2 separate regions of the Homo sapiens genome follow, and region 1 is linked to region 2. Evidence: promoter capture Hi-C in human tissues and cell types (Jung and others, 2019). All regions are on one chromosome and are shown on one strand. The core of a region is centred on a gene start or on the middle of the fragment in contact, and the rest is flanking DNA. Distances in the headings are between cores, read along the strand shown. Region 1 overlaps SYT11 (synaptotagmin 11). Region 2 holds the start of EFNA4 (ephrin A4).

What was found. Contacts are between HindIII fragments. The study calls those that stand out against the background at their distance.
Region 1: a fragment that was not itself captured here is called in contact with the fragment with the promoter of EFNA4 in region 2 in 2 of the 25 tissues and cell types used here (bladder and heart right ventricle).

What each region holds. Positions count from the first base shown.
Region 1 is chr1:155,860,198-155,864,552 of GRCh38, forward strand. All of the region lies in intron 1 of SYT11 (synaptotagmin 11), which reads left to right. Among named protein-coding and RNA genes, the nearest start is that of SYT11, 2.8 kb to the left of the region's middle. The HindIII fragment of the contact is 3,807 bases long and covers 106-3,912 here.
Region 2 is chr1:155,062,490-155,066,990 of GRCh38, forward strand. It overlaps EFNA4 (ephrin A4), which reads left to right and starts at 1,251. Exons shown (of 4, transcript NM_005227.3): 1 at 1,251-1,447; 2 at 4,241-4,501. The coding sequence starts at 1,335. It overlaps ADAM15 (ADAM metallopeptidase domain 15), which reads left to right. Exons shown (of 23, transcript NM_207197.3): 23 at 1-286. The coding sequence ends at 13. It overlaps EFNA4-EFNA3 (EFNA4-EFNA3 readthrough), which reads left to right and starts at 1,251. Exons shown (of 5, transcript NM_001407761.1): 1 at 1,251-1,447. The coding sequence starts at 1,335. DCST1-AS1 (DCST1 antisense RNA 1) reads right to left here and starts at 1,502. Exons shown (of 4, transcript NR_040773.1): 1 at 1,268-1,502. It also overlaps ADAM15-EFNA4. RefSeq lists silencers at 652-741, 1,122-1,271, 1,562-1,711 and an enhancer at 2,202-2,703. The HindIII fragment of the contact is 5,150 bases long and covers 1-3,789 here.

The sequences.
Region 1 (4,355 bases), core at 759-3,258, 800 kb after region 2:
AGGGCTGCGGGGGAGGGAAGTGACAAGGGGGATGGGGCATCAAGATGGCAGCTTGGAGACTGTGGGCCGTGTGGCTGGCAGCCAGGGGAGGCGGCGGCCTCTGGGGAAAGAGGGGTGCGGGGTGGGGAGCAAAAAGGAAGCCACTCCTTAAGCCGGTCAGCTGGATGCTGGGGCTAGGAGGAAACGTGAGCCCTGCAAGCTCCATTCCGCATCGTAATGGTGGGGTCCCTCCGATGCTACCAAATGGCGCTTGGCGCTGCTGGGCTGGGGGATGACGTGATGTCTATTTCTGGGCCTCCTGGCAGCGCCGACGCTCTCCTTCCGGGGCCTTTGTTCCCTGTTTCCCTGGGCCGCCTTTTCAAAAAGGGGGACTGACCAGCGTTGATGCTGGCGGGGGCGCGATCCAGGCCGGAGGGGGAGGGGCGAAAGAGGCCCAGCCCGGGGGAGGCCGCTTTGTGTACCGCAGAAAGCATTACGTCATTTCAGAGCGGCTGGTCCCCGACCCAGCCCTGTGGGCTCCAAGATTAGTTTTACACTCTCTGGAGCAGAAAGTGGAGTGGAAAATAGGGAAGAAGGTGGCAAAGACAAGCTTGAGAAGGAAGTTTTTTCCTCTTTGGGGACTCCTGCAGTATATGCTAAAGGAGCAAACTTCCTGTGTTATGCTTTCCTGATCAAATAAATAAAATATAATTGCCCTGCTTCTCCTTGATTCAGTTTAGATGGGGGAAGCCAGTGAGAGTTGCTGCCAAAGAACCTTCTTATTCCTTCAGGGATTCTATCCCTCAGACAATCCAGTAGGTTTGAGCATCGGGACTCCAGTTTTTAGGGTGGAGACACAATCCAGCTAGGAAATGGCTTTTCTCATTCCTGAATAAGAGGTACAGTGAAATGAGCAGAATCCAGTGTGCTCTATCCCCTCAGAATAAGGAAGAAGAAATCAAATCAGATGTGTTCAGATAACTGATCTTCACACTCATTAACTACTTGTTCTCACTTATTCCACAAGGCTAAATCTTGATGGTATTTTTTCTTCCACTTCACCTTCCGCATCTTTATTCTTTGAGTTCTAAGTTTCCAAAACAAAAGTCCCTTTCATGATCACATGAGCAATCCATGATTTCTTCCTGTTCTTTTTCTTCTTATTCCCTTCCAACAGATTCCTTTCTCTAACTGCAGTTCCAGAATCCTTGAAAAAAGGAGATGGTGTGGAACATAATATAGTGATTTCTCTTAGAGGGACTATTATTGGGAAAGGGAAAATAAATTATATCAGCCTGTTACATACTACATTTTATTTAATCCTAACAAATACCCTCGAGTGTATGTATTATTATATATACTTGCCAGACAAGGAAACCAAAGCTCAGAAATAAAATAACTTGGCTAAAGCCAAACAAATGACTAAAGGTAGCACTAGTTTGTTTTTGTTTTTGTTTTTGAGACGGAGTTTCGATCTTGTTGCCCAGGTTGGAGTGCAATGGCGTGATCTTGGCCCACCACAACCTCTGCCTCCTGGGTTCAAGCGATTATCCTGCCTCAGCCTCCCAAGTAGCTGGGATTACAGACAAGTGCCACCACACCCAGCTAATTTTGTATTTTTAGTAGAGATGGGGTTTCTCCATGTTGGTCAGGCTGGTCTTGAACTCCCGACCTCAGGTGATCTGCCTACCTTGGCCTCCCAAAGTCCTGGGATTACAGGTGTGAGCCACTGCACCTGGCCAATGCTAGGATTTAAACCAATGTCTGGCTGAAGCCAAAATTTATTCTCATTCCATTGTATTATATTTGTCTACTTGACTGCGAAAAGCTATGTTTAGGAAAGGGGGTGTCAATAAAAGCAGTTCTGGTCAGAAGCTGAAGGAGCTGGCCAATAGCCCAGATGTGTCTTGCAGGTCTTTAAACCATTACAGAGGATCTCCTACATAGAGAACTACCACTTCCAACTTTTTCACATCTCATAGAGTACTTCATTTCAAATGCCACAGCACTTGGGTGATACACCAAGCCAACACTCAATTATCCATGACCATGAAGGACAAAAGGAGCGAGAAGCACAGGTCACTGCAATTTATAGCTACTTTAAAACACTCACTTCAGCCATTAGTTTCAACTTCCATTTCCCACCAAGCTTTGGACTAAAGCAAGACAGAGAGCTCTAGGTTTTAATATCTTTGATGATTCTAGCTCATTGTCTTGGTTTCAGGGAGAGAGGCAAGAGTTAACAAATACTAAAATGAAGAAAGAACAGCAAAAATAGGAAACAAGGCCAGGGGGAACAACTAGATAATTCAAAGATGCGTTCATCTGTTTCTCTTCTTTTCCTTCTCTATCCTCCTGGAATATGAGAATTCTTCATCTTCTCTCTTTTCTACCCTATCTCCATTTTCTAACAATAAAAGTTGATGCATTGTAAATATGTAAGCAGCAGTGGGTTGCCCCCCGCTCCTCCACCGCACTGCTGCAGGGAATAAATCTATGATAGAGCCAAAAGAATTGCCCAGGTGTCTCCTAATCTAAGCCTTCAGATCTCTCTTTATGATCATTCCAAAAAATATGCCTGTCTTGGTAGTTTGCTGTGTTCCTCTTCTCATAGAGACAGTGTTCAGTTTCACTAATGAGTAGCAAACAATTTGCAGGAAAGCACCTGATTGATGAATGGAGAGCCACTTCCTTAGGCTGTGCCCATTCTTAATGGCAACTGAATCCAATTAGTTGTTCAACCAAATATTTACTGAACTCCTATTAGAAGCAAGAGACTCTTGAGGGATTCAAAGATCCATAGGATATTGTTCCTGCCTGCCTTCAAGTAGCTTACTACCAAGGCTGTCTCCATTTTGTGAAAACTTTCCCTAAAAGCTATTTCATTTAATACTTTGAGACTAAACACTATTATTATTCGGTATGGATATAGACATGGTCACCTTGATTTATTTTGTTAATAATGTTTTGCTCCTTATCTATATTATTTTAAAATGTACCCGGGTACAGTGGGTCGTGCTTATAATTCCAGCGACTCAAGAGACTGAGGCAAGAGGATCTTGAGGCCAGGAATTCAAAACCAGACTGGGCAACATAGCACCTTGTCTCTAAAAAAAATTTTTTTTAATTAGCCAGGCATAGTGGCATGGTCCTGTAGTCCCAGCTATTCAGGAGTCTAGGGTAGTAAGATTGCTTGAGCCCAGGAGTTCAAGGCTGCAGTGAGCTGTGATTGCACCACTGCACTCCAGCCTGGGCCACAGAGTGAGACCACGTCTCTAAAAAAATAATAACAATAAATATATATTTTAAATAAAATGTAACTCTTCCTTGGTTAGGCATGGTGGCTTGCACCTGTAATCCCAGCAATTTGGTGGAGACTAAAGCAGAATTGCTTGAGCCCAGGAGTTCAAGACCACCTGGGCAATATAGTGAAGACTCATCTCTAAAAAAAATTTAAAAATTAGCTGGGCATGGTGGCTCATGCCTGTAATCCTAGCACTTTGGGGGGCCAAGGCTGGCAGATCACTTGAGGTCAGGAGTTCGAGACCAGCGTGGCCAATATGGTGAAACCCCGTCTCTACTAAAAATACAAAAACTGGCCAGGTGTAGTGGCATGTGCTGGTAATCCCAGCTACTCAGGAAGCTGAGGCAGGAGAATCACTTGAACCAGGGAGGCAGAGGTTGCAGTGAGCCGAGATCGCGCCATTGCACTCAAGTCTGGGCAAAGCAAGACTCCATCTCAAAAAAAAAAAAAATTAACCAGGCATGATGGCACATGCCTGTAGTCCTAGTTCCTCAGGAGGCTGAGGCAAGAAGATCATTTGAACTGGGGAGGTCAAAGCTTCAGTAAGCTGCGATCATGCATGCCACTGCACTCCAGCCTGAGTGACATGGTGAAATTCCATCTCTGCAAAAAATACGAAAATTAGCCAGGTGTGATGGCATGTGCCTGTAGTCCCAGCTACTCAGGAGGCTGAGGCAGGAGGATCACTTGAGCCCAGGTGGTGGAGGTTGCAGTGGGCCAAGCTTGTGCCACTGCACTCCAGCCTAGGCAATAAAATGAGACGCTGTCTCAAAAGAAATAAAAAAAGTAAGCTCTACCACAATGCCTGGCAGGGACATATAAATTTACACAAAAAATAGCAATTTTATTATTGTCACTGCTATACACAATATTACATGTATATTATGACCAGTGCAGATGAAATTATACCTGCCTCTCATGTAATCTGGACATTATGCTCATAGTATTGTGCTCATGATGCTCATAGGCTTTCTAGAGAAGATAAACCCTTCATCTAGGTTTGGAGGGAAGAAAAAGCCATGGATTGGTTGGAGAGGATAGGAGAGGATACCTCTAATAGAAGGGAAAACAG
Region 2 (4,501 bases), core at 1-2,500:
GCTCTACCTCTGACCTCTCCGGAGGTTCCGCTGCCTCCAAGCCGGACTTAGGGCTTCAAGAGGCGGGCGTGCCCTCTGGAGTCCCCTACCATGACTGAAGGCGCCAGAGACTGGCGGTGTCTTAAGACTCCGGGCACCGCCACGCGCTGTCAAGCAACACTCTGCGGACCTGCCGGCGTAGTTGCAGCGGGGGCTTGGGGAGGGGCTGGGGGTTGGACGGGATTGAGGAAGGTCCGCACAGCCTGTCTCTGCTCAGTTGCAATAAACGTGACATCTTGGGAGCGTTCCCCAGAGTTTGTCTGCTTCTAGAACCCGGGTCGCTCCTGCTGCGGTTCCAGGTTTGGCCGCCAGAAGACGCTGCCGCCTCAGACGAGGGCGGGCTGTGTGGGGCGGGAGTACCAGAAAGGGTCGGCGTGTGTCCCCGGGATGCTCGCAGCTTCCCTCTGCCCAGACTGGGGTGGCTTTCGGCGCAATCTGTCAAGCTGTTGGACCTGCCGTCCCCACTCTGACCATTGGCTGGGAAAAGTGGATCTGGCTGATGCTCCCAGAGCCCAGGAGCCAGGGCGGAGCGGGGCGGCGGCTGCTCCCACGATCCCAAGGCCGCGCACCTGCCTCCTCCCCCTCCGCCGCCGCCACCTGAGGGATCGGGAACAAAGGTGCTTTGTACAGGCCGCAACCACCTCATTACTTCGTCTTAGGGACTGGGGCCGCGTGGGCCCCCAGCCCGGAACGAAGGTGTGGAGCGGCAAGGGACAGACGCCAATCCTAAAGTGAGCATCTAGCGCGCCACCTAAGGCTCTTTAGGGAAGGTGGTCCCAGAGCTGTGTTGTCCCTTCCGCTTGCACTGTCCCTAGATGTGCAAAGAAAACGGGGCAGTGCATGAAGGTGGTTGGACAGGCTTCATGGATCCTCGCCCGCGCCTCACTTTCCCCTATCTGGGCAAAGGTTATGTACCCTTATTTAAAATCTTCCAAACTTCTAATAAGGCAGTCTACCCTGCACTAAAGCAGACACGAAAGAGATGACCTCCCTAAAAATACTGCTGTTGGAATACGTCCTTCCTTCCCGCCCCCTCGCAGTGCGGTGCAGCCTCAGTGGAAGCTTTGGCGAACCTGGCGCGCGCTGCGGTGCACAGAGGGTTAACTGGAGTTGGCGCTGGGTGGAGAGGAGGAGACGCGCTCCCATTGGCGGAAAGTTATTCAGGGGCGGGGTCAGTGAATCTCCGTACCCCACTCCCCTTTCCGCAACTTCCCTCTTCACTTTGTACCTTTCTCTCCTCGACTGTGAAGCGGGCCGGGACCTGCCAGGCCAGACCAAACCGGACCTCGGGGGCGATGCGGCTGCTGCCCCTGCTGCGGACTGTCCTCTGGGCCGCGTTCCTCGGCTCCCCTCTGCGCGGGGGCTCCAGCCTCCGCCACGTAGTCTACTGGAACTCCAGTAACCCCAGGTAGCCGGGCCGAACCGGGCGAGCGCACAGCCAAGTCTGCGCGCTCCCGGGCTTTGCGCGCGCCCGCCACCCGCTCTTTGCGCGGCGCCGCCTGAGCCTGGCCGCGCGCCGGGGCTCCTTTGTTTGAGCCGGCGGGGGAGGGGGGAGGGGCGAGGGGCGAGGCGCGCCCTGGGTCTCCCCACAGCCCGCATGTGTTGGGGGGCAGGCAGAAGACCCCAGCCCCAAGGGTTGTCTAGGGGGTCTTGGAGCATGGAGCTGGGGGGGCCTTTGCCCGCACTCCGGGCTCCGCCCCCCTCGCTGCTCTCCTGGCGATCCCCAGCCTCCCGCAGGCTGGAGCTGTGGCTGACGAACTTGAGAGCGAGGGAGGGGGCTTTACTCTTATGAAAGAGCGTGGGTTACTCTCCTGCCCGCTGGGTCTCACCTCTGGCTCTCACTCTGTCTCCTGATCTCATTTGCTATCTCTGCTTTCATCTCTGTCTTTATTGGTCCTTCTGTTTCTTTCCAGTGTCAGCCCTGCCCTTCTAGCCGAATCACCTCTGGGCAAGTCTCGTGACCTTCCTAACCTCATTTATCTCACCTGTATAATGGGCTAATAATACCTAGTACCCTGGGAAGTCTGGCAGGGTAAGTGAGGTCATGTATGTGAAAGAGGCTCAGGCTGTACAGATATAAACTATTATTTCTTTCTCTCTCCTGAGCTGCCTGCCTTTGAACCTTAGTATATTTTACTGTTTCCATCCCCCTCCCCAAGTCTCCCTGCCTCTCCTATTTCCTATCTGTTTTTCTTTCTGATTTTCTACTTGAGACAATCTGTGACTATTCATTTCTTCACTCACTAACATTTATTTATTAAACACATACTGTGTGTGCCCGGCCCTGTGCTAGGTTGCAGGGGATTAACTATATAGATGAGAAGATCAAGACCCTGCCCTCTGGGATTCCACAGACTCTCTGGAGAACAGGCGCAGGCAGGAGAGCCTGCATAAAGACAGGTCATTACAATACCAATAACAAGTGATAAGAGCTTTTGTTGTCCTTGGACTCTGAATTCTCTATCTCTGTCACAGACCAAAGCTTCTGAATCACTTGGAGGACCTGTTAAAAATTCAGGTTTCTCACCCCCCAATCTTAAGGTTTCTGGCTCATTCATTCAATCCACAAATATTTATTGAACACTGTCCTGTGCTGGGCACTTTTCCAGGCACGGGGGATGCAGTAGAACAAAACTTACCAAGGCCCTGTCCTTGCTCAGCTTGCGTTCTAGTAAGTCTGGGCTGGCTGAGCCCAGGAATCTTCATTTCTAATCAGAACTGATACAGGTCGTCCTTGGACCACCCACTGGAGGCTTTTCCTAAGTCATGCTTCGCTGTGTTTGTGGTATGGGGGGTGGTTCATGCAGCATTCAGTACTGTGGGGAGCAGCCCCTTCCAGCCCTTCCCACCTGTGCTGGCTTCCCCAGGCAGCTCCCAAGAGGTGGGGAAGGGAGTCCTGAGAAGACTGAAGACTGGGTAGTATGTGGACTCCCCCCATGCCTGGCACTTGCTCCTCCTGGCCAAAAAAGGGAGGCACCTAGCACCCACTCCCTCATTCTTTTTTTTTTTTTTTTTTTAATTTTTAGAATTTAGAGACAGGGTCTTGCTCTGTCACCCAGGCTGTAGTGCGGTGGCATAATAGCTCACTACAGGAACTTGCGGACTCTAAGGATCCTCCCGCCTCAGCCTCCCAAGTAGCTGGGACTACAGGAGTGCACCACCACTCATGGCCTTTATTTATTTATTTATTTATTTATTTATTTATTTATTTATTTATTTTTTGAGATGGAGTCTCGCTCTGTCTCCCAGGCTGGAGTGCAGTGGCGCAATCTCGGCTCACTGCAAGCTCCGCCTCCCGGGTTCACGCCATTCTCCTGCCTCAACCTCCCAAGTAGCTGGGACTACAGGTGCCCGCCACCACGCCCGGCTAGTTTTCTTTTTATATTCTTAGTAGAGACGGGGTTTCACCGTGTTAGCCAGGATGGTCTTGATCTCCTGACCTCATGATCCGCCCGCCTCAGCCTCCCAAAGTGCTGGGATTACAAGCGTGAGCCACCGCGCCCAGCCTATTTATTTATTTATGGTAGAGACAGTCTCACCATGTTGCCCAGGCTGGTCTTGAACTCCTGGCCTCAAGCGATCCTCCCACCTCGGCCTCCCAAAGTGCTGGGATTCAGATGTGAGCCACCACACCTGGCCTCCCTCATTCTTTTTTTACCGTGACATTCTTTTCACCCTTGGGTTGAAGTCAGTCTAAAGGACAGTGTTCCTCACTTTATATCTGTTTGAGGAGACCTTTCCCAACCCCTGTTTCCACCTCTGTGTCTGCAGCTGCACTGTGTGCAACTGTACCTCCTGCCTCTCTGCCCAGCTTCTTCACAGCATCCATCCACCTGACATTGATCAAGCCTGGTGCTATACCACATTGAGTGTTGGGCACTGGAGCTAGAGAGGTGTGTGGCAGCTCCAGCCTGTAGGACAGGGTGTGGTGACCCTCCTTCTCACATCTAAGCTGTGTGGTTATGGGCACTGCAGGTCTTAGCCTCTCGGAACCTGTGAATCGATCATCTCATCCATTTCTTGCACTCTCTTTGTCTCTCAAGAGTTGTCAGTCTGGGAACCTCGGGCCTTCCTGAGCTGCTCCATCGCACATGGGTGGAGGAGAGGCTGGCAGGGGCCTCTGAGAAGGGGTGTCTCTGGCATCCATGGCCATGGCGTGGTGCCCTCCACTCCTCAGCCCACCCCTGCGTTATGCCTGCAGGTTGCTTCGAGGAGACGCCGTGGTGGAGCTGGGCCTCAACGATTACCTAGACATTGTCTGCCCCCACTACGAAGGCCCAGGGCCCCCTGAGGGCCCCGAGACGTTTGCTTTGTACATGGTGGACTGGCCAGGCTATGAGTCCTGCCAGGCAGAGGGCCCCCGGGCCTACAAGCGCTGGGTGTGCTCCCTGCCCTTTGGCCATGTTCAATTCTCAGAGAAGATTCAGCGCTTCACACCCTTCTCCCTCGGCTTTGAGTTCTT